2 separate regions of the Homo sapiens genome follow, and region 2 is linked to region 1. Evidence: promoter capture Hi-C in 16 types of primary human blood cells and fetal thymus (Javierre and others, 2016). All regions are on one chromosome and are shown on one strand. The core of a region is centred on a gene start or on the middle of the fragment in contact, and the rest is flanking DNA. Distances in the headings are between cores, read along the strand shown. Region 1 holds the start of LINC01565 (long intergenic non-protein coding RNA 1565). Region 2 overlaps EEFSEC (eukaryotic elongation factor, selenocysteine-tRNA specific).

What was found. The method cuts DNA at HindIII sites, captures the fragments that hold promoters and counts their contacts. A CHiCAGO score of 5 or more calls a contact.
Region 2: a contact is called between a fragment that was not itself captured here and the fragment with the promoter of LINC01565 in region 1, in 1 of 17 cell types (endothelial precursors). The highest score is 6.2, in endothelial precursors.

What each region holds. Positions count from the first base shown.
Region 1 is chr3:128,572,904-128,580,027 of GRCh38, reverse strand. It overlaps LINC01565 (long intergenic non-protein coding RNA 1565), which reads left to right and starts at 3,942. Exons shown (of 3, transcript NR_125802.1): 1 at 3,942-4,213; 2 at 4,642-4,762; 3 at 5,725-7,124. The HindIII fragment of the contact is 3,021 bases long and covers 3,421-6,441 here.
Region 2 is chr3:128,404,907-128,412,030 of GRCh38, reverse strand. It overlaps EEFSEC (eukaryotic elongation factor, selenocysteine-tRNA specific), which reads right to left. Exons shown (of 7, transcript NM_021937.5): 7 at 3,385-3,962. The coding sequence ends at 3,772. Among named protein-coding and RNA genes, the nearest start is that of DNAJB8-AS1, 55 kb to the left of the region's middle. RefSeq lists a cis regulatory region at 244-429 and enhancers at 2,086-2,734, 3,916-4,797. The HindIII fragment of the contact is 784 bases long and covers 2,858-3,641 here.

The DNA of each region.
Region 1 (7,124 bases), core at 2,693-5,192:
AGCTGAGGCCTGGGCCAAGCCTTCCCCTCTTGTCCTTGAGCACTTGAGTTGGGTTCACCAATGCTGCTTCTTTCCTCCTGGACCAAAGCCATGCCTCGGAGTCCCAGCTTAGGAAAAGGTTTAGTTCTTGCTAAACCACACCTATCTATCTATCTATCTATCTATCTATCTATCTATCTATCTATCTATCTACCTATCTATAGAGAGAGATAGAGATGTAGATATATAATAGATATACACAACATATACATATATACACACATCTATGTATGTATTCTTAATTCTTAATTGGTGTGGTTTAGCAAGAACTAAACCTATATATGCAACTCTCTCTCTCATATATATATACATATATGCAACACACACACACATATATATATGCAGAGAGAGAAAGACTTGCTCTGTAGCTCAGGCTGGAGGGCAGTGGTGCTATCATAGCTCACTGCAGCCTTGAACTCCTGGGCTTAAGCAATCCTCTTTTTTTTGAGATGGAGTTTCGCTCTTGTTGCCCAGGCTGGAGTCCAATGGCATGATCTCGGCTCACTGCAACTTCCGCCTCCAGGGTTGAGTCTTGCCTCAGACTCTCGAGTAGCTGGGATTACAGGCGACTGCCACCATGCCCAGCTATTTTTGTATTTTTAGTAGAGACAGGATTTTACCATGTTGGCCAGGCTGGTCTCGAACTCCTGACCTCAGGTGATTCACCTGCCTCGGCCTCCCAAAGTGTTGGGATTACAGGCATGAGCCACCGCACCCGGCCTCAAGCAATCCTCTTGCTCAGCCTCCCAAAGCACTGAGATTACAGGTGTGATCCACCACAGCCAGCCAAGAATATATATATATATATATATTCTTCAATTACAAAAGCAATACGTACTCAATGTAAAAAGTTAAAATAATACCGAAGTATGTATAATAAGTGCAGTTCCCTCACCTCCCCTTGTCTCACTAAATCCTGACACTGCAGAGGTAGCCACGGTTCATGGTTTTGGGGGAATCCTCCAGACCTTTTTCTGTGCTATATATATATATATATATCCATGTTTGTGTATATGCGTATATATGTGCCATCCTGCAGCTGTCCCCACTGAAGTCCGTGATGTCCACACACATGAACATATCTAGATCAGCCTCATTCTTTTGTGTGGCTCCAGATGGCCCCATGCTGGGTTCAGTCTTAACTTATTTAGGTATTCCTCTGTGAGTGGACACTGAGGGCATCATTTTTTTCCATGAGAATACTAGTATTTGTAGCTTCATTGTCTTATTTTCCCAAGAAAAAAGAAGCCACTGTGATTGTTCTCATCAATGACATGTAGTGCGTGGCCGCTGTGTACAGGACAGTGTGCTCTACTGAGGGGTGTGGGACAGAACGGGATGGGATTGCCCGCTCCTGAGGGCTTGGCTGAGTGGTGGGGAGAAGTATGTCAAAAGGTGAGGTCACCGCCTGAGGACTGAGTGAGGTCGCCTGGGAGGAGGGGCATGAACCCAGGTGTTTGCTGGGGTGGGCCTCATGGCAGGAGAGGCCTTCGGTGCTGGCTCTGGAACCCTGGGGAGGAGTCTGTGGAGGGAGGGGTGGTGGGGTGGAGGTGCCCTGGGTCAGGGAACAGGGTGGCCAGAGATGCCGAGACAGGAAGAATGAGCAGACCTGGTTCTTCAGGTGTGCCCAGGAAGCACCGTTCTTTCTGACAAAAGTGAAATTAAGGTGCCAGAACTCATTATCTGGCCTTTCTCCGCGTTGCGAGGCCCATCCTTGCTTCTGTGGTGTTATTTTCCCTCTCTCTCTCTCTTTTTTTAAAATAAAAATAACTATGAAGGGTTCAAGGCGCCTTTCTTTCACAACATCTCAGCTCTTAGGTCCCAGCGGTGCATCGGTGGCAAAGAATGTCCCCTGTCACCACGGCTGCTTGCCTTTATTTGAAGTGTCTGGCTGAGCTATCTCCCTGTGACATGCTTCTTTCAGAGCGAATTATTCATCCCCCCACAGCCCCCACCTCTCCCGGCCCTGGGCTCTGTTCATCCCCGCAGGTGTGAAGACAGGCCCGGCCTTTGTGTGTGAGGAGCCTGCCCCCTCCTTGGCTCCCCTCTTGGATCCCCTCCAGGCCTGTCAAGGCTTTCCTCGCTCCAGGCCCTTGCGGTGTGCGGGGCTGATGTCTCCTGTCATCCAGGGAGGGCTGCGCAGCCTCCAGCCCGCCTCTAATCTCCCCCTCCACAAAGGGCAGCCCTGTCACTCAGGGAGGCAGTGGGGGAACCTGGATCCGGGGCCACACAATGAACCATCCACCCTGCCTGAGTAGGAGGAAGCAGCCTAGCAGAGGTGGCTGTTGGGGCAGAGGGCAGGTGGGCAGGGGCCTGGGCAGAGAGGGTGAGAGCTCAGCCATCTTAAGCCACCGAAGTCAGGGAATCAAGCTTATTTTGGTGGAGTACACAAGTGGCATAGGCCAGGTGCAGTGGCTCACATCTGTAATCCCAGCACTTTGGGGGGCTGAGGCAGGAGGATGGCTTGAGGCCAGAAGTTCAAGACTAGCCTGGGCAACATGGCGAGACCCTGTCTCTGCAAAAAATAAAAAAAAAAAGCTGGATGTGGTGGCGCCCACCTATAGTCCCAGCTACTCAGGAGGCTGAGGTGGGAGGGTCACTTGAGCCCAGGAGGTGGAAGCTGCAGTGAGCTATGATTGCACCTCTGCACTCCAGCCTGGGTGACAGAGCGAGACCCTGTCTCCAGCAAACAAATAAATAAAACAAGTGGCACAGAGCAAGCTGGCCAATCCTGGTAGTGCTGGCTAATGGTTAGTGCAGAGGGGGCAGTCTCGGTGGCTGACTTGGAGCCATCCTACAAAAATGAGGGAGGTACCTATAGAAATAGGGTCAGCTTCCCCATCCTCCACCAGACTCCAGAATTCTTCCTCAGCCTCCTGCATTAGTGGTGATGAAAAACCGATGCAGGGATGCAGGGGTGGAGTGAGCAAGCCGAGACCAGCCTGGTGCCCAGGGTCAGGAGCCTGCTCTTTTGAGCCTCAGTCCCCTGTGTGTCCACAGGAAGCACAGTGCCTGCTGCCTGGGGGGGCCTGAAGACACAGGATGGGTCCCCGTTGTGGAGGTGCCCGGGCAGCACCTGCATATAGCAGGTGCTCACTGTTGGTGTTGGCATGGTGGCACAGAGCAGAGGTGGAAAGCAATGTGCCGCCTGCAGACAGGCTTTTGTGACCTACCCCGTGTCTAGAAATGTATCTTCTGAGTTACTAACAAGGAAAAATGTGGCCACACAAGGTCCACCTTACTTCAAGGCATGGCAGGCTGGGTAGAGCAGTGCTGCCCTTGGAGATGGCACAGGGTCCCCCCTGCCTGCACCCCTGGGTTCTCCTCCACCTCCTGCCACTCCCCCTTTGTACACCAGCTGGTGACACTCAGTCACAAGCTTTCGTTGGCTCCTGAGACATTTGAGGTTGAGAGCTCTGGGACCTGGAGCAGACTCGGGTTTGCATCCCACCACTTCATTCGCGACCTGTGTAGTCAACCTTGCTGAGCCTCAGCGTCCTTATCTGTAAAATGGGACTCACGATCTTCACCAAATGAAAACAAGCATACATCACCTGCCCCTGAACCTGGAAGAGAGAGCGGATTCCCAACCAAAGAGAAGACACATTGCTGAGGCTGCCTCACCATGGCTCACTGCTGACAGCATGGTGTGCACTCCACAGGGCTCAGCTTTCCCCGTGGGTGGGCAGCGTGACCCGGGCAAGCAGGCAGGGCTGCCAGGGCCTTGGCCTCGGCCCAGCACGGAGCGGGCAGGGGCTGTGGCCAAGGGTCTCTGGAGGAGGCCACGTCTCTGCAGAGGAGACCCCTCCTGAAACACCCTCCAAGCTGGAAGCTGGCCCCTCAGAGGGGAAAACAGGTGCCGTGGGCGACTCTGAGCTCCCCACTGTAAATTAATCCACCCGAGCAATTGGGAACAGAAAGTGCTTCCTGTCCCGGCCTGAGACAATGGACAATAAACCCAGCCTGCTGGGCCCCGGCCCCTGACCCCAAGGCTTCAGGAAGAGGCTCCCACACGCACACACCTGCGGTGTGTGAAGCTCGCATTGTTCTGGGCTCATGGCCGAGTAGGGCCCCTTGCTCTCAGGAGCCTCCAGCTCTTTCTGGACCTGAGCCCTGGGAGCCTTCACTCTGCCCAGATGTGCTTCCTGTGGAAGGAGACCCCCAGATGACACAGGTGAGCAAGCGTCCTTGGGTTCGGGTTCATTTGATGCGTATTCTTGAAGCCCCTACCACGCACGGGGTCTGCACACCAGCAGCACAGTACAAAGCCTTTCCAGAAAGGCTGTGGTCTCACACCTAGCACCAGACAGCACACGGGCCTGCCCTTCTCCTCCTAGCACACAGACAGGGCCATATACATCCTGCTGGGGAAGGCCCGGTGGAGGCGGCTCCTTGGAGTGAAAGGCCCTGAAATGCCAGAGGCTCCTGGGATGTGAGGTTCCTTCTGGATTTCTGAGGCTGATAACTGAATACTCTCGACTCGAATAGATGATGAGCTTGTGGAACATCGTGTGCATGTGCACGCCACCACGAAGTTAGTAATCAATCTTGCTTGCTGGGGCCATGTGTGTGTCCACATTTTGTCTTTTAATTTTTTTTGAGATGGAGTCTTGCTCTGTCACCCAGGCTGGAATGCAGTGGCATGATCTTGGCTCACTGAAACCTCTGCCTCCCGGTTCAAGCAATTCTCCTGCCTCAGCCTCCTGAGTAGCTGGGATTACAGGTATGCGCCTCCATGCCCAGCTAATTTTTGTATTTTTAGTAGAGATGGGGTTTCACCATGTTGGCCAGGCGGGTCTTGAACTACTGACCTCACGATCTGCTCACCTCAGTCTCCTAAAGTGCTGGGATTACAGGCATGAGCCACTGCGCCTGGCCTCTTGTCTTTTAATTTTATTTTGAGTTGGGGTCTCACTCTGCCACTCCGATTGGAGTGCAGTGGTGCTATCATAGCTCACTGCAGCCTCAACCTCCTGGGCTAAAGCAATCCTCCCACCTCAGCCTCCTGAGTAGCTGGGACTACAGGCATGCACTGCCATTCCTGGTTAGGTTTTAAACATTTTTGTAGAGATGGGGTCTTGCTACGTTGCCTGGGCTGGTCTGAAACTCCTGGGCTCAAGTGATCCTCCCACCTCGGCGTCCCAAATTGCTGGGATTACAGGCATGAGCCCCACACCCACCTCAATGTCTTTTAAAGTCATTAAAAGACAATTATTTTGTCTTTTTTTTTTTGAGACAGAGTCTCTCTCTGTCGCCCAGGCTGGAGTGCAGTGGCACGATCTCGGCTCACTGCAAGCTCCACCTCCCGGGTTCACGCCATTCTCCTGCCTCAGCCTCCTGAGTAGCTGGGACTACAGGCACCCGCCACCACAGCCGGCTAATTTTGTTTTTGTATTTTTAGTAGAGATGGGGTTTCACCGTGTTAGCCAGGATGTTCTCGATCTCCTGACCTCATGATCCGCCCGCCTTGGCCTCCCAAAGTGCTGGGATTACAGGCGTGATCCACTGCACCCGGCCTCATTTTGTCTTTTAATGAATAATGGACTAGCACAGCCTTAGAGAAGGAAAGAGCAGAGGTTCTATGTCCAGTCAGTGGGGAACTGGGAGATTCATTCCGAAAGGCTTTGAGGAGGAACCGGGCCCGGGTCACTCTTTGAAAGGGTGGCTCTCCCATTTTTCCTGCAGAAAATCTGAGCAGTGGGTGAGGCCGAGGGACTGCCCAGAGCCCCAGAGCACGGCAGTGGGCAAGCAGTCGTCCCTGTCCTGGGCATCCCTGTGGCCATGGAGCTCCTGGGTGAGCAGCTGCTCTGAGACAAGTCTGGTGAAGAATACAGCAGGACTCCTGAACATTCTTCCTTAAATGCTTATCTGTGGAAACCAGAACTGCCCTTGGCGCGTGGCTCGTGGACGTGCTGGGTGGCTGGGTGGGGCGGGTGCACGGGTGGAGCCTCAGCTCTGTTTCTTTCTCTGGGTAGTGTCCCCACTGCTGGGCTTCTCCCGCTCTCAGCTCTCTGGGGAGGTCCCCTGTGAAGGGCCTGTCTTTCCTGTCCCCTCCCTCGGATCATTAATGAACCACTCTCTCTCTCTTTTTCCTTTTCAGTGATTGGGCTGTCGGAATCAAAGAGGCCCTCCGGTGACTCAGGCGTTTCCCATTGCCCTATTCTAGCATCCTCTACTCTTAGCACTGAGAGTTTTTCACGTCCTATTTGGAACTGATAGGAAACCCTTTCATTGTTTCGCTACATGGATATTAGCACTGATGAAGGAAGCGCTCCATCAGATAGTGGTCCGCTGCAGTGAGCTGGTTTCCAGCACGAGCCTGCCTAGACTCAGCGTCTCCCGCCTCCAGGGACCCCCAGACTCTCAGCCCCTAGGCACCCTGGGCCAGGGTGGTTGGAAGCTTCTAGGCATTGTGGGGTCTCTGGCACCAGAGACACTCGGGGGTCTGGGGACCGAGTTTGGGCCCTGTACCCACCCACTACCATTTGACATGGTGAGAGAGAGAGAGAGAGATGACGAGCTCAGGCAGGGATGGCTTCTCCAGTGCCCACAATGTGCCAGGACTCTGCTGTGCCACTGTGGGCCTTTCCTCACCCCTCCCTCCCAGACATCAAGCTCTGGTTTCCAGCTGTGTTCCTTGAAGCCGTCGGGCTCTCTGGTGACAGCCACAGAGCCTCTGAGCAACTTTGCTTTCAGCTATTTTCCATGACCCAGTCCTGGGTAAGGCTTCATTTGAATGAAGGGTTCTGCTGCTAAAAAAAAAAAAAAAGTCGGAAAAACCACCTGATCACAACTTTCTAAGGCAGCTATTTTGTTTTGCAATGAGATATTTGCAGTGGTTTCACTAAAGCCTGATCTTCCCACTGGACTGTCGGCCTGTGAGGATGAGGACGTGTCTATCACAGTCAGTATGCCCTGAATGAATGGGTGTCACCCTCCTCCCCCTAGTGAGAGATAAGGACCTCAGGCTCAGAGAGGTTATGTGGTTTTCTCAAAGCCACACAGCAAGATTTGGCAGGTGAGCCTTACTTCTCTTCCTGGGCTAGCCTGCGGTCAGGGGCAAGGCTTTTGGATGATAAGAGTGA
Region 2 (7,124 bases), core at 2,000-4,499, 170 kb after region 1:
GAGATACACACACTGACAAACACCGCAACCCTCCCAAAACACACACGGAGCACATGCAGACACGTCTGAGACATCGCGGATCCATGTGCACAGATGCACACCCAGACGTCAGCACAGGCTTGGAGATGCCTGGTGCACCAAAGCCCGTGTGCGCACATGCACATGCATGGCCAGGGCAGGAGGCCTGGGAGCACGGAAGCTGCCCCTTCTCCTGCCCCAGGCCCCCAGGGCTTCCCGTTTACGAGACGTTATCTATTGAAAATATATTAACCCAGAAGCCTGTTTCCATCAGAGTCTCGATTCCAGGGACATTTCCAGATAAGCCTTATCTCTTCGTTTGTGCATTAGCCCTGCTGGTCGGGGGCCTGCCAATCACCGCTGCCCCTCCTGCCCCAGCCCATGGCAGGATGTCGGTCCATGACCTCACTCCATGTGGGCAGGCAGGTGAGGGGGCCCAGGGCACTGCTGCCCCATGCCCCACCCCACCCATCAGCCCACAGAGGACCCCAGAGGGCACCTCTTTTCCAAGGACACGCCTGAAGCACTGGTGGGCAAGGGACTCTGGAAGAACCTGGAGCCTGGACTCAAACTCCAGCTCTATCTGGGGCAGCTGCAGGCAGCCAAGCCCTGCCCTGCCCACACCCCTGGGAAACCGGCATGCTGCTGCCACATCACTGCTGTGGGTAGATGAGCAGATTCGGTGAGTTTACCTGTGTCGGTGGCTGCAGTGAGCTTGGCCCACTGGAACCCTCTCCTACATAAAACACGCGGGCCTGGGGTTGCCCAAGGCATCCTGGGGGACGGGGGAGCCAGGGAAGGGGACGTGCATGCCCACACCTTGGCCTCAGCCAGAAGCGGGTGCTGGCACCAGCTCCTGCCCACCGTCCCGGCTAGGCTGCACCTTCAAAGGCTGCGCGCCCTGGCCCGACCCCACTAATGGACGCTCGGGTTTCCACCGATGCCGGGCCTGATAGAGGCCTCTCCTGGGGCAGTCGGCTGGGCGTTTTCAGGCCACACAGAGCAGGTCCGCCTCATTACACACTCAGGGCGCTCAGAGGCTCCTGGGAGTCGCCCTGGGCTGCCCCTCCTCCCTTCTGTGCCTCTGTGCCTCAGTTCCTCCACCCGAGCCCCCTCCTTCCCGGGACTTTGAGGAGCACGGTCTTCAGACCAGTAGGGAGGTGAGAGGTGGGGTGGAGGTGGACGCCTGCACAGAGTTCCTGGAAAAACGGCTTATTTGGGGCTGGTGTCACTTCCTGAGGGGTTCTGGGCCTTTTGCCTCTCAGTGGGAGATGTGTGGGGCCCACCCTAGGGCCGCAGGTAATGTGGGGTCAGCAGTGTGCCTGGCAAGTCTCCCACCCCCAGGGCAGCCCTCTGGCATGGCTGCTTTTCTTCTTCCATTTTATACATGGGGACACTGAGGCATGAGGTTAGGGAACTTGCCCAAGCTCACACCGCAGGCAGGGAGAGGCCTGAATCTGTGCCCTGGTGGCGGCAGCCACATTCGCCCTGTGTGCTCATCTTTCCTCCACACCTGATCTGGCCCCAGAGCCAGCTCCCATGGCTCCCATGGAAGCTCCCATGGACAGCTTCCATGGAACCCCATGCTTGGCACAGTGGTTCCACTGGGTCACATCACCCCTCATTTAGAAAGGGACAGTGACACACCCAAGGTCACCCTGCCCATGCAGGCCAGGACCTGGGGCTGAGCTCAGAGCTTTCTGTCCCAATGTGCAGGGACTCTGAGGGGGCTGGGGAGGGAGCGGTCAGGGAGGGTGTGGCCTGGCTCCCAGCTCAGCCCCACACTGAGGAGGAGGGAGGTTTCCTCGCCTAAGAAGTGAGTCCTTGGAGCTGGGTTCGGACCCAGTGCTGGCCCTCACCAGCAGCTCCCAGATCTGTGCTGGGAGGTGACCAGCCTGGACAGCACTGGCAAGTGCTCAGAGGGGCCTCTCCTGCCCCCAGGGACTGACAGGCTGGGGGCTGTGAGCCCAGCTCGGTGCTGACTGAAGCCCTCCTGGAGGTCTGCTCCCTTCTTGGGCTGCCCTCCCCTGGGGGACCAGCAGGCTAGCAGGGAGCCTGGTGTGGGCTCAAAGCTGCTGCCAGTTTCCTGGGCGGAGTGGCCTCAGTGAAGTGGCACTGCCTTCCTGGTGAAACAGTCTGCAGGGCCAGGTAGGGTGAGGAGGCCGTGGGGCACAGCACACAGTGGGGTCGGGGCACAGCACACAGTGGGGTCAGGCCCCAGGGAGAGGGGCCACTGCAGTCCCAGGAAGTGTCTGCTCAGGCAGCGGCAGTAGAGGGGGAGTCGGCTCCTAGGCAGAGGGCTGTCCTGATTCACAGTGCAGACAAGCCGCCCTGGCACCCGCAGCCTGCAGCAGCCGCGGAGGCCACGCTCACCGGGGCCACACTCTCTCTCACGTTCCTCCAGGGCCAATCCCCTCAGGGGACTGAACTGGGAACCCCACTTCCCCATGGCTCTCAGCTGTTGCCCTTGACTGCTGCTCCAGCCCTGCTGCCTGGGTCTGGGCCAAGGTTGACGAAGGGTGGCTGGGCCAGTCGCCATCGCTGGTATCCTTGCAGCTCGGGGGCTTTGCTCTGCTGTTGGTGTATTTAATTAACTGCCTGTTCCCCACCCACCACGTGCACACGGGACACACACACACACACACACACACGGCTCTGGGGCTTAACAGGCCCAAGTCATTTGATCGAAACCTGCCCCTGTTAATATTTTTAATGCCATTTGCAAATTAAAGCATAATGCACCGATTACTGGGATAAAAGGGAGGCCTCTGCGTCTGTCTGGAGACCAAATAAAGGAACGTTTGAACATCTGTTCATCCTGCAAATGTCTCTAAAAGCTTTGATTTCCCCTCAGTCTGTTGACTCCACCATTCACCCCTTCCTGAGTATCCCACAGCCTGGGGCTACAAGGCAGGGTGGTCTGTGGGTGCAGGGGATGGCAGATGGCTCTGCAGGGTGCCCTCACCATGCTAGCCTCCACTTTCTGGGAAGTATGTGGTTCTCAAACTTGAGGGCAGGGGCTGAGGGACTCCTCGTGTTGGGGTGGAGGAACAAGCCTCCACCTGCTCTGCCTGATGCTCTGGCCAGGCACCCTGCTATTCCCCAACTTCCCTGTGGGTACCTTCCCTGGACCCAGCTGCCCAGAGAATCCCCATTCTCCCTGAAGGCCCAGAGCGCCCCAGGAGCCACCTAGTGGGGTTGAGAAGCGCAGACACTCTGCAGACTCCCACAGCCTACAGACTCTGAGTTTGGGTCCCTTCCCTGGCCCCGACCTGGGCAGGAACTCTTGGGATTTCTGAGATTCCCCTTGGAACACAGCTGGGGAGGGCGGCGGACCTAGTGAAGTCACAGAGAGAGAGACACCAGTAGAGTGGGCTGGGGCCACGGGACATTTATTTGTAGCCATCAAGTGCCTGCCCACCTGGGGGAGGGTTGAGACTGGCCTGCAGGTGGCCAACAGATGGGGCAGTGGAAGATACTGGCTACCAGCCCTCTGCCCATGGCCCTTTCCTAGTTGGGCTGGGGGCTGTCCTGGGTGGGAGTGTGCAGGGGCTGGAGGAGAGACCCTCCTGGCCCCAGCAACCCATCCCCCTCAGCTCCTCACCAGGGCTCAGCACCAAGCTTGGGGGTGGGGGCTGCTGCTGCAGGACTGCAGGGAGAGACTGGGAGAGGCTGAGGCGTGGCTGGTTGGGATTTGGCACAGCAGCCTGGACTGGGCTGGGCAAGGAGGCCCTGGGGGAGGTCACCGGACACTCAGGGAGACTGAACCATGCGCTTGTGGGTGTCGAAGACATAACGCTTGAAAGTCAGGCTGAGCACCACATGCTGTGAGGGCTCGCTCCGCTCGGCGCTCTCCTCCTGCCTGGTGGCCTCCCCACGGCCAGCCCGGGCCCGCTTCTTGAGGGCGGGTGTCAGGATCTTCTTGGACTCGGGGCTGAGGCCACCTGCAAGGCACAGAAGAGAGCCTGTCACTCTGCCGTACCCCAAGCACCCGTGGGCTCCCTGCCCGCGCACCTGCTGCCTAGACTCACCCCTCTTCTGCCTCCCTCCCTAGCCAATCAGCCCTGAGGCCTGTGGTCCATTCTGACATTTTGGTCCCTCCGGCACCCATCTGATAGGTGTACAGCAGGGCACTGTGCCTCTTGGGGCCTCAGCTCACCACCCCCGTGCTCAGGCCCTGGAGGGACTGCTGCTCTGTGCCGAGTGGTCCATTGCTTTCCAGTGCACTCATGCCAAGTCCACGTCTGGAAACTCGGCATCTGAGGCTCCCTGGGTGGGGTACTCCCTGATTGCCTCTGGAGACCCATTCTCCACTTCTCCACCCTCTTGTGTGCCTGGGAGGCTGACCCCTGCAGACAGCACGACCAGGTTTAGCAGTGGAAGCCCCAACAGGCCAGAGTGTGGGAAGAGAGGGCAGTCAGGGTGTGTATCCCTGGCTCCCTTTGGCAGGCAGGACCTGGGCTGCCTTCACCCCCACCTGCCCTCAGTGGGATATGCAGGCTGCATACCCAGCTGCCCCAGTAGCAGTCCCAGGAACCACCACCCGCTGGGGCTCCCTGCCCCACGCCATTCTCACAGTGCCCCCTCGGCTCAGTTTGCCACTGCCCTGAGAGCTTGCTCCCATCAGGACACCCCAGTGGGGCCATGGGGCTCACAGAGTCAGTGGCTCATCCCGGGATCCTCTGCCAGGGGTATACGCAGCCCCGCCCCCAGGCTTGGGTGGGTGCAGCCCCCACCGCTTTCCAGCTACCTCTATGAGTTGCTTTAACCAGCCCACGCCTCACTAAAGACCTTTTGTTCAACTCCCTCCAGCTGAACACCTGAGTGGAAATTTGTTTTCTGCTGATGCCCCGACACGCACCCACTCCAACACCTCCATCTTCACCACTCTCTGCCTTTGTGCACCGTCTCTGCAGCCCTGCTGATCATGGCCCATTCCTGGGCTCCTCATTGCACATACAAGCCTGTCACGTGTTGTTCCCTCTGCCTGGAACACCCTTCCCATTCTAGGCAATAGAAGTCCCACTCATCCTTAAACATGCTGCTGCAACTGCCCTTTCTCTGGAGCTTGTCTTTTTCATTTTTAAATTGACAAATGACAAACTGTGTATATTTATAGTGTAATATATATATATGTATGTATATATATGTATATATATGTGTATATATATATATTTGTGTGTGTGTTGTGTGTGTGTGTGTGACAGGGTCTCACTCTGTTGCCTAGGCTGGAGTGCAGTGGTGTAATCCTGGCTCACTACAACCTCTGCCTCCTGGGCTCAAGTGATCCTCCCACCTCAGCCTCCTGAGTAGTGGGGACCACAGGCTCGTGCCACCATGCCTAGCTGATTTTTTGCATTTTTTTGTGGAGATGGGGTTTTGCCATGTTGCCCAGTCTAACATGATGTTTTAATATATGTATACATTTTGGAATGATTAAATCAGACTAATTAACACATTCATCACCTCACATACTTATTTTGGTGATGAGAACATTTAAAATCTATTCTCTTAGCAAATTTCATTGAATATTACACATTGTTATTAATTACAGTCACCATTCTGCACAGCGGATCTCCTGAATCGATTTCTCTGGTCTAACTGAAACTGTGAACCCTTTGACCAAGATCTCCCCATTCCCACCCCAGCCTGCACCCCCAGGCTCCCACAACCACCCTTCTACCCTCTGCTTCTATGAGTTTGGGTTTTGAGATACCACATGTAAGTGAGATCATCAGCATTTGTCTTTCTGTGCTGTGGGGCTTGTATTCATGAGGAATCTCCTGGTGGCAGCATGGTGCAGCCTCCATGTGGGCCACTGGCCAGGGTGAGACCACTTAGCAGGCTCCTCTGCATCTGTGGGAGTGGGTGGGCCCAGGGCTCGGAGCAGTTCCACCCCTGGCAGAGCACCTCAGTGTAAGCACTCACTCTGTGAGCCTCACAGCCCCACTGGGGGGTCCTGGTGGGAGCAAGCTCATGGGGACACTGTGAGAGTGGCATGGGACAGGGAGCCCCAGTGGGTGGTGGCTCCTGAGACTGCTGCTAGGGGCAGCTGGGTATGAAGGCACTGAGGGCAGGTGGGGGTGAAGGCAGCCCATACCCTGCCTGCCAAGGAGGTGTCCCACCAGGATCCCCTCCCCATGTGCACAAAGGGCCTGTACAGGCTGGGAACCTAGAGGACCAGAGCAGGGAGGAAGCTGGGCAGAGGCACAGGCAGAGGGCCCAGCTTCCTATGTGCCGTTGGCACCTGTGCCACTGCACCTGCTGGCACCTGAAGAATTTTCCTCCCTTTTCCCAGTCCTGCCCAGTACTAGCTTCGTCCCTGAAAAGTCAAGGCAGCTATAAGGCTCGCACATCAAGCTTCAGTCCGGAGGGCCCTGGCCTGTCGTCTCAGACTGGGAGCGCTGGCTGGCGGGGCTGTGTGGGTTATTTCTGGCTCAGTTTCCTGAAGATGTTGGCCACCCCTTCTTTATACGGATGAGAAAATGAAGGTCTAAGAGGCCAGTGACTTACTGGAAGCCCCACAGTGAGTTCAGAAGAGCCAGGATTTGAGCTACAGCCCTTACCCAATGGCAAAGCCAGCTTCTGCTCTCCACTCAGAGTGATGGGTGGGGGATACCCCTTTCAGAGGGCTTCTGACAATGGTTCTCAAGGCTGTGAGAGCATCGTGCACTGGCCCTGCAGCTCTAGATGTTTAAAAAGGTGACAAGGGCTCATGCCTGGAATCCTAGCACTTTGGGAGGCCGAGGTGGGTGGATCATGAGGTCAGGAGATCAAGATCATCCTGGCTAACACGGTGAAACCCCGTCTCCATTAAAAATACAAAAAATTAGCCGGGCGTGGTGGCGGGCACCTATAGTCCCAGCTACTCGAGAGGCTGAAGTAGGAGAATGGCATGAACCAGGGAGGTGGAGCTTGCAGTGAGCCGAGATTGCGCTACTGCACTCCAGCCTGGGCAACAGAGCGAGACTCAGTCTTAAAAAAAAAAAAAAAAAGTGACAAGGGTGCTGGATAAAGAGGCCATCTGTAGAGTCAGCCAGGGACAGCCTGCCCCACTGCACAAAGGGTCCGGTCTCCCTCTGGCAGGCGGAAGTGAGATTACTGGC